2 separate regions of the Homo sapiens genome follow, and region 1 is linked to region 2. Evidence: promoter capture Hi-C in 16 types of primary human blood cells and fetal thymus (Javierre and others, 2016). All regions are on one chromosome and are shown on one strand. Each heading gives the region's core, a stretch centred on a gene start or on the middle of the fragment in contact. The rest is flanking DNA. Distances are from core to core; before and after follow the strand shown.

Evidence for each region. The method cuts DNA at HindIII sites, captures the fragments that hold promoters and counts their contacts. A CHiCAGO score of 5 or more calls a contact.
Region 1: a contact is called between the fragment with the promoter of SERP2 here and the fragment with the promoter of NUFIP1 in region 2, in 9 of 17 cell types (M1 macrophages, fetal thymus, endothelial precursors and 6 more). The highest score is 10.1, in M1 macrophages.

What each region holds. Positions count from the first base shown.
Region 1 is chr13:44,370,823-44,375,715 of GRCh38, forward strand. SERP2 (stress associated endoplasmic reticulum protein family member 2) reads left to right here and starts at 3,002. Exons shown (of 3, transcript NM_001010897.3): 1 at 3,002-3,287. The coding sequence starts at 3,204. LOC105370297 (a long non-coding RNA gene) reads right to left here and starts at 2,744. Exons shown (of 2, transcript XR_001749858.3): 1 at 2,575-2,744; 2 at 1-2,375. The HindIII fragment of the contact is 1,852 bases long and covers 2,258-4,109 here.
Region 2 is chr13:44,985,740-44,990,923 of GRCh38, forward strand. It overlaps NUFIP1 (nuclear FMR1 interacting protein 1), which reads right to left and starts at 3,732. Exons shown (of 10, transcript NM_012345.3): 1 at 3,286-3,732. The coding sequence starts at 3,697. GPALPP1 (GPALPP motifs containing 1) reads left to right here and starts at 3,799. Exons shown (of 8, transcript NM_018559.5): 1 at 3,799-4,003. The coding sequence starts at 3,916. RefSeq lists enhancers at 3,270-3,908, 3,533-3,602, 3,793-3,982, 3,909-4,545. The HindIII fragment of the contact is 7,208 bases long and covers 145-5,184 here.

The DNA.
Region 1 (4,893 bases), core at 1,752-4,251, 620 kb before region 2:
CCTTTAATTCAATTCAATTCTGGCACTATGTACCTGGAAATAGCAGGGGCTCAGGGTTTGATCCTATGAGACCGCCCCCCATTTCAGATGCCAATCCCAGGTAGTAGGTTGTCTCCTGTACCTCTGCCTGCCCAGCTATAAACTGGAGTTCCCCCAACCCACTCCTTGTTTGGACTAATCTGCTAGAGTGGATCACAGAACTCAGTGAAACACTTTACTTCTGTTTGCTCATTTATGAGGAAGGATATTACAAAGCATATAGATGAACAGTGAGATGGAAGAGATGCACAGGGCAAGAAATGTGGGAAGGGCTGTGGCGCTTCCATATCCTCTCTGAGCACGCCACCCTCTAGGAACCTGATGTTCTGCTCTCCAGAACTCAACAAACCCTATCCTTTGGGCTTTTATACAGGCTTCATTGCATATGTCTGATTGATTACATCATTGGTCACTGGTGATCAACTTAACTTTCAGCCCCTCTCCTCTCTGTGGAGGTCTGGGGGGACAGGGTGGGACTAAAAGTCCCAACCCTCTAATCCTGCCTTGATCTTTCTGGTGACCAGTCCCCATCCTGAAGCTATCTAGGGTCTCCAAGTCACCAACCATCTCATTAGCATACAAAAGGTAAGATATTTTCATCACTCTGGAGAGTCCAAGGAATTTAAGAGTTTTAGGTCAGGAAACAGGGACTACAATCAAATATATATTTCACAATATCACACGCAGATATACCTGCACAAGTACACACTGATCTATGTACAGGGATATTCACTGAAGCATTGTTGGCAACCACAAAAAAAGAAAAACTGGAAATAATCATCCATGGTTACATCAGTTCAATATATTACTGTATAATCATACTATGAGACATAACACAACTACAAGAAAGAGGTCATATATAAGTGATATGATAATGTTGATATATTAAGTTAGAAGAGCACGTGGCAGAACAGTTTGCATACTACTATTCCGTTTTTTTTTAGAAGGGAATATACAAATAGTCTTGTATATACTGGAAGGGCAACCCAGGAACCGTGGGAACTTTTTGGGGAGGGTGGCAAGGAAAGAGAGACCTTTACTTTTCATTTTCTATCCTATTTCTGTTTGACTATTTACTGTGTAGATGTAGTCTACTCATAATTAAAACAAACTAATTTAAAATGCCGGAAAAGTGAAGCATAGCAGGAAAAAGGAGTCAACAGTAAAGAAAAATTTTCCCCAAAAGGGGCTTCTCTCAGTTAAGAACACTTCTGAACTGTACTCACTGAATGTGAAGACCCAAAGAGAAAACAGTCTCTGTCTGTGTCTTTTCCTTAATGTCGCTCAGAGCCAGACCTCTACTCACCTGGTGAGGACCTGGGTCAGTCTCCTGGTATTTGGACATGATCTGAGAGGAGTGAGTCAGGTAAAGGAACCTTCTGGACCACAGACAACAGCCAGGCTCAGCAGGGATCACTGAGGTAGGAATCCCCCCACCCAAACCCCTAAAAAAGAGCCAACAGTTATTAAAAACATGGGACTAGAGTGGGGCAGACTGGGTTTATGGTCCTGTTACAACAGTGGTGATGCTAACAGTTAAAAGACCATAGAAGCTTGTTTCAAATTAATTGGCCTGTAGAGTAGGAAAAAAAAAAAATGACTCTACTAATGATCCTAGGCAATTCTGTCTTCTAGGTTACAGCAAGCAGCCCCCAGAATGGCCTTTATTGAAGCCTGAGTGACAAGAAGCCTGTAGCGGGGTGAGGGGGACCCGCTTGGAAAAAGGCCCCAAAAGAGGAGCTCTTCCTAACTCTCCAATGACATGGGAAAATTTTACTCACACAAAATTCCCTGGAAACCCAGCCACCTCCCGCTCCAAGAGAAGGCCTAGAGATGCAGTGGCCAGAGACAGCCTCAGGCCTTCTTCCCCATGCTGGGGGTGCTGCTGCTTGCCTTCACCCCGACCCGGTATCCCCACTTCCCGCTGCCCCAGATCTCCCAGGCTGAATGTCCCCTCTTCGCCTCCACTCTTCTGAGCTTCTAAGAGCTAACTCCAAGTGAGGAACTGAACCCCTTCCACCCCTACCTCCCCAGGCAATCTGTAGAGCTCTTGAGCCCTAATACCAGTGTCTGGGAGGCGCGTAAACGCTTCCATTTTTATCCTTCCACTGCAGAAAATGCCCAGTTTAGTCTGGGAGACACTCAGACCCCTCGGGACAAGGGTGGCTAGAGAGAGGTCCAAGCTGCCCTGGGTGGGTGGGGAGTCAAGGCAGGCCAAAGCTTCAGATTTAGACAGTAACCACCAAATCCGACCTGGGCTGCAGGTCCAAGGCCTCTTCCTCTTTCCTGCATGCTCCGCTCTGCCGCTGGCCCATCTTCCAATGCAACCCCTACAACTACCAAAGCAAAAAGGCCTGTCCCAACTCCATCCTCACGGCCCGATCCCCAACCCTCAGGGGATGCCGCTTCGTGTCTCCTCTTTATTTTACAACGCGGCCCTCCTTGCAGCCCTCACGAAAAGTTCTGCAGTGGGGTCCCCCAGCGTGGGGCCCTTCTCGAGACCCTTAAAGAGAAGGCTCGTTTGGTGGACCATACCCGGGCAGCGCGGGCCCGGGCCTGGACTGGTTCTACTTGTGTTCTGAGGTCCCTGACCACCGCCTTGGGTCCAGCCCTCGTCCAGGGGGCGGCGGTGCAGGGGAGACCGCGCGGCCCGGCCTGAAGCGCGGCCGCCCTCATCCCTTCCCCGGGGCTGGGGTGGGTCACCGGCCGACAAACACAGGAGGGGCCGCGTCCCCGTCCCCGACGCGCTCACAAACGCCGTGGTCGCCCGAACCTTCGGCCCCGCAGCATTCGGCTACAGGACCGCGACACTGCAGGGCCCCGGCTCTGCGCGCTGCGCTCCGGCCGCTCGGCGCGGGAGGACGTGCGGTCGCGCCTGCCTCGGTGGCCGCGCGGGGTAGGTGGCTGCGGGGACCGGAAGGATGGCGAGGAAGTCGGAAAGGGTTTCCTGAGATGAGAGATTACTTCCGTCCGGGCTGCGGCCTCTCTCTGGAGTCGGCTAGCCGGGGCTCGGGGAGCGGGGTGCGCAGGGCTCGGGGCCACGCCTTGCCACCTGCAGCGCCCGGGTGGGCCGCGGGGGCCTCGGCGGGACGCGCTCGGCCCTGTCGCAGGAGCTAACGCAGGGGGAATCCTTGCAGGTGGGAGCATTTCAGAGCGCACAAGCCATGGTGGCCAAACAGCGGATCCGGATGGCTAACGAGAAGCACAGCAAAAACATCACCCAGAGGGGGAACGTAGCCAAAACCCTGGTAAGGCGGGGTCGGCGCCGGCCAGGCAGAGCCCTGCAGCCCGGCGGGGTGGGGCGGAAGGTGGGGGCGGGGCCGGGCGGGTAGCGGCGCAGGGTCCGGCCTCCCGGCTCCCGGCCCGCCCCTTCTGCGGGGTCCTGCAGAGTGGGGGCTGAGAGCTGGGTTCAGGGCGGCGCGGTCTGCTTGGCGTCCTCGTGGGCGGAGAGGGCCCTGGTTGGTCGTGGCCCCTCTGGGAGTGGCTACCTGGGCTACCAGGGAGGCGCAGAGGAGCCCTCCTCCCCGACCCGCACCCCCTGTCCCCCTGCCCGGGAGACAGCTGGGCCTTGTCCCGGAGAAAGACGGAAAGCCTCATCCTTAGGGGCCAGTTAAGTCAACTGCATGACACAGAGCCTGGAACCTAGTATGTTCTAGAACGTTGCATGACACAGAGCCTGGAACCTAGTATGTTCTAGAACGTTTGTTGAATGAATGAATGAATCAATGGCTAAATGGAGGCCACTTGTCATCTCCTCCCGGACTCCACCTGTCTTCCCTCCCCAACAGACTTGCACCAGGATCAAGTTTTCTTTCCAGCCCCTTTGTGACGGTTTCACTGGAGGTGTGGAAAGAGCTCAAAATGGGGAGTGAGATTTGGACCCACATTCCCTCCAGCCTCTTTTTTCTCTTTTACCTCTCTTCCAGCGAGACCTCCCTCAGCCCCTAGGCTAAAGTCTAAGGGCAGCATTCCTATTCTTTCCACTTGGTGAATTCAGACTCATTCTCATGGTATAACTTTAGAGACCAGTTTATTGTCAGGCATTCGGTGTCCCTAGAACTGTAAATTCAAGCTTTGCAACTGGACTTTTAAGTAAAACCTGTGCCTTACACTCAGGAGTTTCTTTTAGCAAAGCAGATTATCATCAACAGAAAATGCGAGGCCTGTGACTTTGGACATTCAGAGGCATGAGTCGCATGGGTAGTTTGGCGAAGTTGGTCTCCAAGTATATGAGCAAAGGCGCCTGGGATCTGTTACCCCGTACAGTTAAGTGGAAATCCAGCTGAAGCCTGGAGTTTGGCTGGGAAAGCTTGCAGATTTGATGAATCAATTCCTTTTAGCCAAAGAAACTATATTGGTTTGATTAACTAAGCAAAAAGCTAGATCTGTAATCATCACACCAGAATTCTTGCAAAACCAAGCAGTATTACGGCAGAGAAACTCTAGGACCAAACTCAACTCTACTCAGAGCTTTATACACAAGTCTAAGCATAACTCAACTCTACTCAGAGCTTTATACACAAGACCTAAGTAATCCTTAAAATTCTCTCATTTAGGAATTATATCACTCAGTTGTGATTAGGCAGCAAAATGCCAAGATGCCATCAAATTGGAACCATTTTGTCACATTGATTTATGTTTTCCCTATTTTTACTGAGGAAAAAAAAATGGCTGCCCGGGTTGACATTGAGAAGCAACTTATAATTGATGTTAAGGCATGCAGGGTTTTATATCCCTAAGAGATCAATTCTTCCTTCTCAAGGGATCAGACCTGCTAACTGACACAGTGAAAAATAACTAGTCATGTGGCTCTTTTTCATGAACTAAAAAACCGGAGTTCAGTTGTCAGATCTC
Region 2 (5,184 bases), core at 2,482-4,981:
TCTCCCTCTCCTCAGGCCTCCCTATCCTCTGAGACGCAATATTCAAAAGTAGGCCAATTAATAACCCTATCATGGTCTCTAAGTGTTCAAGCAAAAGGAAGAGTCACATGTCTCTCATTTTAAATCGAAAGCCAGAAATGATTAAGCTTAGTGAGGAAGACACGTTGAAAGCTGATACAAGCCAAAAGCCAGGCCTCTTGTGCCAAACGGCTAGCCAAGTTGTGAATGCAACTACTGAGAAAGGGTCTCACTGTCAGCCAGGCTGGAATATAAAGGTGCAGTCATAGCTCATTGCAGCCTCAAACTCCTGGGCTCAAGGGATCCTCCTGCTCTGCCCTCCTGAAGTGCTGGGATTACAGTCGTGAGCCACCGTGTCTGGATGAAAAGTTCTTGAAAGAAATCCACAGTGATTCATAGATAGTGATTCCTCTAATGGATCTGAGCAAAGTAGATTAAAAACCTTCTAGAAAGGAGGTTTTGATTCACTATTCAAGATACCATTAAGAACATTCATGATTTATGGAAGGAGGTCAAAAGATCAACATTAACAGGAGTTTGAAAGAAGAAATTCCAACCCTCATAGACGATTTTGAGGAATTCAAGACTTCAGTGGAGGAAGTCACCTCAGATGTAGTAGAAACTGCAAGAGAACTACAATTAGAAGTGGAGGGGCCAGGCGCAGTGGCTCACGCCTATAATCCCAACACTTTGGGAGGCTGAGGTGGGTGGATCACGAGGTCAGGCGATCGAGACCATCCTGGCTAACATGGTGAAACCCCATCTCTACTAAAAATACAAAAAAATCAGCCGGGCGTGGTGGTGGGCGCCTGTAGTCCCAGCTACTAGGGAGGCTGAGGCAGGAGAACGGCGTGAACCTGGGAGGCAGAGCTTGCAATGAGCCAAGATCGAGCCACTGCACTCCAGCCTGGGCAACAGAGCAAGACTCCATCTCAAAAAAAAAAAAAAAAAAAGAAGTGGAGCCACAAGATGTGACTTGCTGCAATCTCATGGTAAACCTTTAATGGATGAGAAGTGGCTTCTTATGGATGAGGAAAGAAAGTGCTTTTTTGAGAAGGAATCTACTCCTGGTGAAGATGCTGTGAACACTGTTGAAATGACAACAAAGGATTTATAATATTATATAAACTTAGTTGATAAAGTAGCCTCGACTTCCTGGGCTCAAGGAATCCTCCTGCCTCAGCCTCCCATGCTTCTAGGACCACAGGCATTCCACCACGCCTGGCTAATTTTATTTTTTTTGTAGAGACGGGGGTCTCACTTTGTTGCCCAGGCAGGTCTCAAACTCCTGGGCTCAAGCAATCCTCTTGCCTCTGCCTCTCAAAGTGCTAAGATTAGGCTGGGTGCAGTGGCTCACGCTTGTAATCTCAGCACTTTTCGGAGGCCAAGGAGGATGGATCACTTGAGGTCAGGAGTTCGAGATAAGCCTGGCCAACATGGTGAAACCTTGTCTCTACTAAAAATACAAAAATTAGCCAGGCATGGTGGCGGGCACCTGTAGTACCAGCTGCTCGGGAGGCTGAGGCAGGAGAATCACCTCAACCTGGGAGGTGGAGGTTGCAATGAGCCAAGATCACGCCATTGCACTCCAGCCTGAGCAACAGAGACTCTGTCTCAACAAATTAAAAAAAAAAATAAATAAAGTGCCCAGATTATAGGTGTGAGCTACCCTGCTCAGCCTAAAGTATTTTTTAATCAAGGTATGTAAGTTGTTTTTTAAGACATAATGGTATTGCACACTTACTAGACTATGGTATAATGTAAAAATAACTTTTTTGCCCCATAGGATCTGCAGGAAAACATACTTTTACATGCAACGGAAAACCAAAAAAAAAATAATTGTGTGACTTGCTTTACTGCAGTGGTCTGTAACTGAACCCACAAGAGCTCCAAGGTATCCCCAGATCTAGAATCCAACTACTTCTCACCATCCCTTGGGCTTCACCCTGGTCCAAGTCTCCAATATCTCTTGTTTAGAAAAGTAACTACAATAGCTTCCTAACCGGTTTCCCTTTCAGTCAGTTCTCACCAACAGACACATTAATCCTCTTAAAACGTAAATCAGGTCATGTCAATCCGCTGTACTACCCACCTCACAACAGTAAAAGTCAAAGTCCCACGATCTACAAAGACATACCAGGTCTTACCCTCCTCCCCCATCTTCTACAATTATACTCCAGACTCAGTCCTCTGTAGCCACACTGGTTCCCATTCTGATGTATAGCTTCTAAGCCTCAAGACCTTTGCACTTGCAGTTCCTTCTGCCCGTACCCCTATTCTCCCAGTTGTATGCATGGCTGTGATCTCTCACCTCCCTAAAGTCTTCGCTCATATGTCACCTTCCTTATGACTAACAATGACATTTAAAACTGCACTACCTGGCCCGGCGTGGTGGCTCATGCCTGTAATCCCAACACTTTGGGAGGCTGAGGCGGGCGGATGCCTGAGCTCAGGAGTTAGAGACAGGCCTGTCCAACACGGGGCAACCCCCTTTCTACTAAAAATATAAAAAATTAGCCGGGTGTGGTGGCGTGGGCCTGTAGTCCCAGCTACTCAGGAGTTTGAGGCATGAGAATTGCTTGAACTCGGGAGGCAGAGGTTGCAGTGAGCCTCTCTGCAGAGACTGCATAGGCTGGAGTGAAGTAGATCGCGCTACTCTTCACTCCAGCCTGGGCGACAGAGCGACACTCTGTCTCCAAAAAAAAAGAAAAAAAGAAAATCCTGCACTACTTACCATTCTTCTTTGTTTTATCTCTCTCCATGCCACTCAACCTTCTAATGCACAATATTTTATTTTGCTTATTGTCTGTCTTCCTACACAAGAGAGATAATATTAAGCTCCATAATATTTTTTGTATGTTCTGCTCACTGCTATATACCCAGATTCTGGTACATAGTCGGAATTCAATAAATAACTGCTAAATGGAATTAACAGTCAACAGGAAAACATTCTAGTCAGACATATTTTGAGAACAAAGGATTTACAATATTATATAAACTTAGTTGATAAAGCAGCCTCGACTTCCTGGGTTCAAGGAATCCTCCTGCCTCAGCCTCCCATGCATCTGCGACCACAGGCATGCCACCATGCCTGGCTAATTTTATTTTTTTTGTAGAGACGGGGGTCTCACTTTGCTTTGAGATGCTAATGACCAGACTCCAAGAGTGCAGAGGCAAGGCAGAGTAGAGAGAGGAAGCAGAGAAAGGGGAGAGGAAAGAACGGGGGAAAAAGGTAAAGGGGTCGACTCACGTGGAAAAATAGCCTACCTGCAGGGTTGAAGGACTTCTGATGCCGAGGAAACCTATCAGAAGACTGTCTCCAATACCACGATGTGGAAGCATGGAAATTCCAAGGCTGGCCGCTGGGTTGAGGCTGAGAATCAAGGGGAGACTGGGCGTCGAAGGGGGGTTGCGCCCCGGGAAGAATCTGGGCGTCGAAGGGGGGCGGAGCCCCGGGGAGAGACTGGGCCTCCATGGGGGGCTGCGACTCAGAGGAAGGCTTTGACCCGGCTGCGGGAAGCGAGGACGTAAGTGGTGGTGGCGGTGGCGGCAGCATTGCCCAGAACATCCAGCTGTCCCGCGGCGGGGCAGTGTCGCTCAGGGGCCCTAACGTGGGAGTCAGCTCGGGAGACGCATGCCACCCGATAGGAGTCTCGAAATCACTAGTCGGCTCAGCCATACCACTGGCGGGTCCGGAGTCTAGCACGCGACTGTGGAGCAAGCATTAGGCGTCACTTCCTTTACCGTGAACTACAAGGCTCAGCCAACCACAGGCTTTACGTCATTTCTCGGCGCCGGGAAACCTGCCATTCTTCGCTGCTGATCGCGGGATTCTTTTTGGATAGGGTTGACGTTCGTGGATAGACTCATATCTGTGACCAGTGTCCGCCACCGCGGATGGCAAGAGACCTGATCGGACCGGCCCTGCCGCCCGGCTTCAAGGCCCGCGGAACAGCGGAGGACGAAGAGCGGGACCCGAGCCCTGGTAAGCGGCGGCGTCTCCGCTGCCCACCAGGCCCATCTACCCACTCCCTGGCCGGGCCCTGCTCGCTGAAGAAAGTCGGAGGCCTAGGAGGGCGGAGGAGTGGGGAGTGGGCGCGGCCTGACCCGAGAGAACTTTTCTCTTCCCAAACAGTAGCAGGGGGGAGGAGGCTGGGGGACCCTCCTAGAAACGAGCTTTGGCGTGGTTTGGCTTCGTGATGATAATACATTCTCATTTAGCCTTAATATGAGCTGCACGCTGCCCTAACTGACTGATACCCACTCAGTCATTTAAGCCGTATAAGAAAAAAACTATTTTCCCATGTTGCAAATGGGTACGCCCAAGCCCATGCCAGTGTCTAGATCATACTGCTAGCAAGTGATGGAGCGCGACTTAGAAGGAAGCGGTTCTCTTAACCTCTGTGCCATATTGCCTTCTGATTACAAGAACCTTGCAGATCCTGTTCTCTCCAGCCCCCGACCTGCCTTCCTAGCCTCTCATTCTGTTATTGCATCTGACAAACACAGCCCAATACTCAATCCAGTCTGAGTTGCTGCGCAATTCCTTAACGCTCTAGGCTTCTGGGCTTCCTCTGGTTGCATTCCTAAACATAACTGACAAACTTCTCCCCATCCTTCAAGGCCCAACTTAAATGTCACACCAATAAAACCTTTCCAGATTCCCCGAAGCATTGTCATGCCTTTCTTTTTGCCCTCGGGTTTTTTCCTAATTACATTGCATATTTAGTACACTGTATTTGAATAATTTGTCGACATAATCTGTCTCCACCATTGCACTATGGTCTTCTACCTGAACACGCAACAGGCACTTGGTATATACGAAACGAATGCTTCTCGGATTCCGGCATGCATACCTATCTGCTTTAATGTTTATTCACATTTGTAGACTAGCACCGACACCCAGTTGGAGAAGAGTAAAGCTGAAAGAGTAACCCTGCCATTTCTGAATCTAATTTTTCTTCCTGGTCTACCCGGAGGCTATGTTTCTACTACAGGCCCCTTTCCAATATAATTTCTGTCATAACCACTTTAAAAATTATGCCTTCCAGCTGAGCGAGGTGGCACAAGCCTGTAATCTCAGCACTTTGAGAGGCTGAGACGGGGCGGATCACTTGAACTCAGGAGTTCAAGACCAGCCTGGCCAACATGTTGAAACCCCATCTC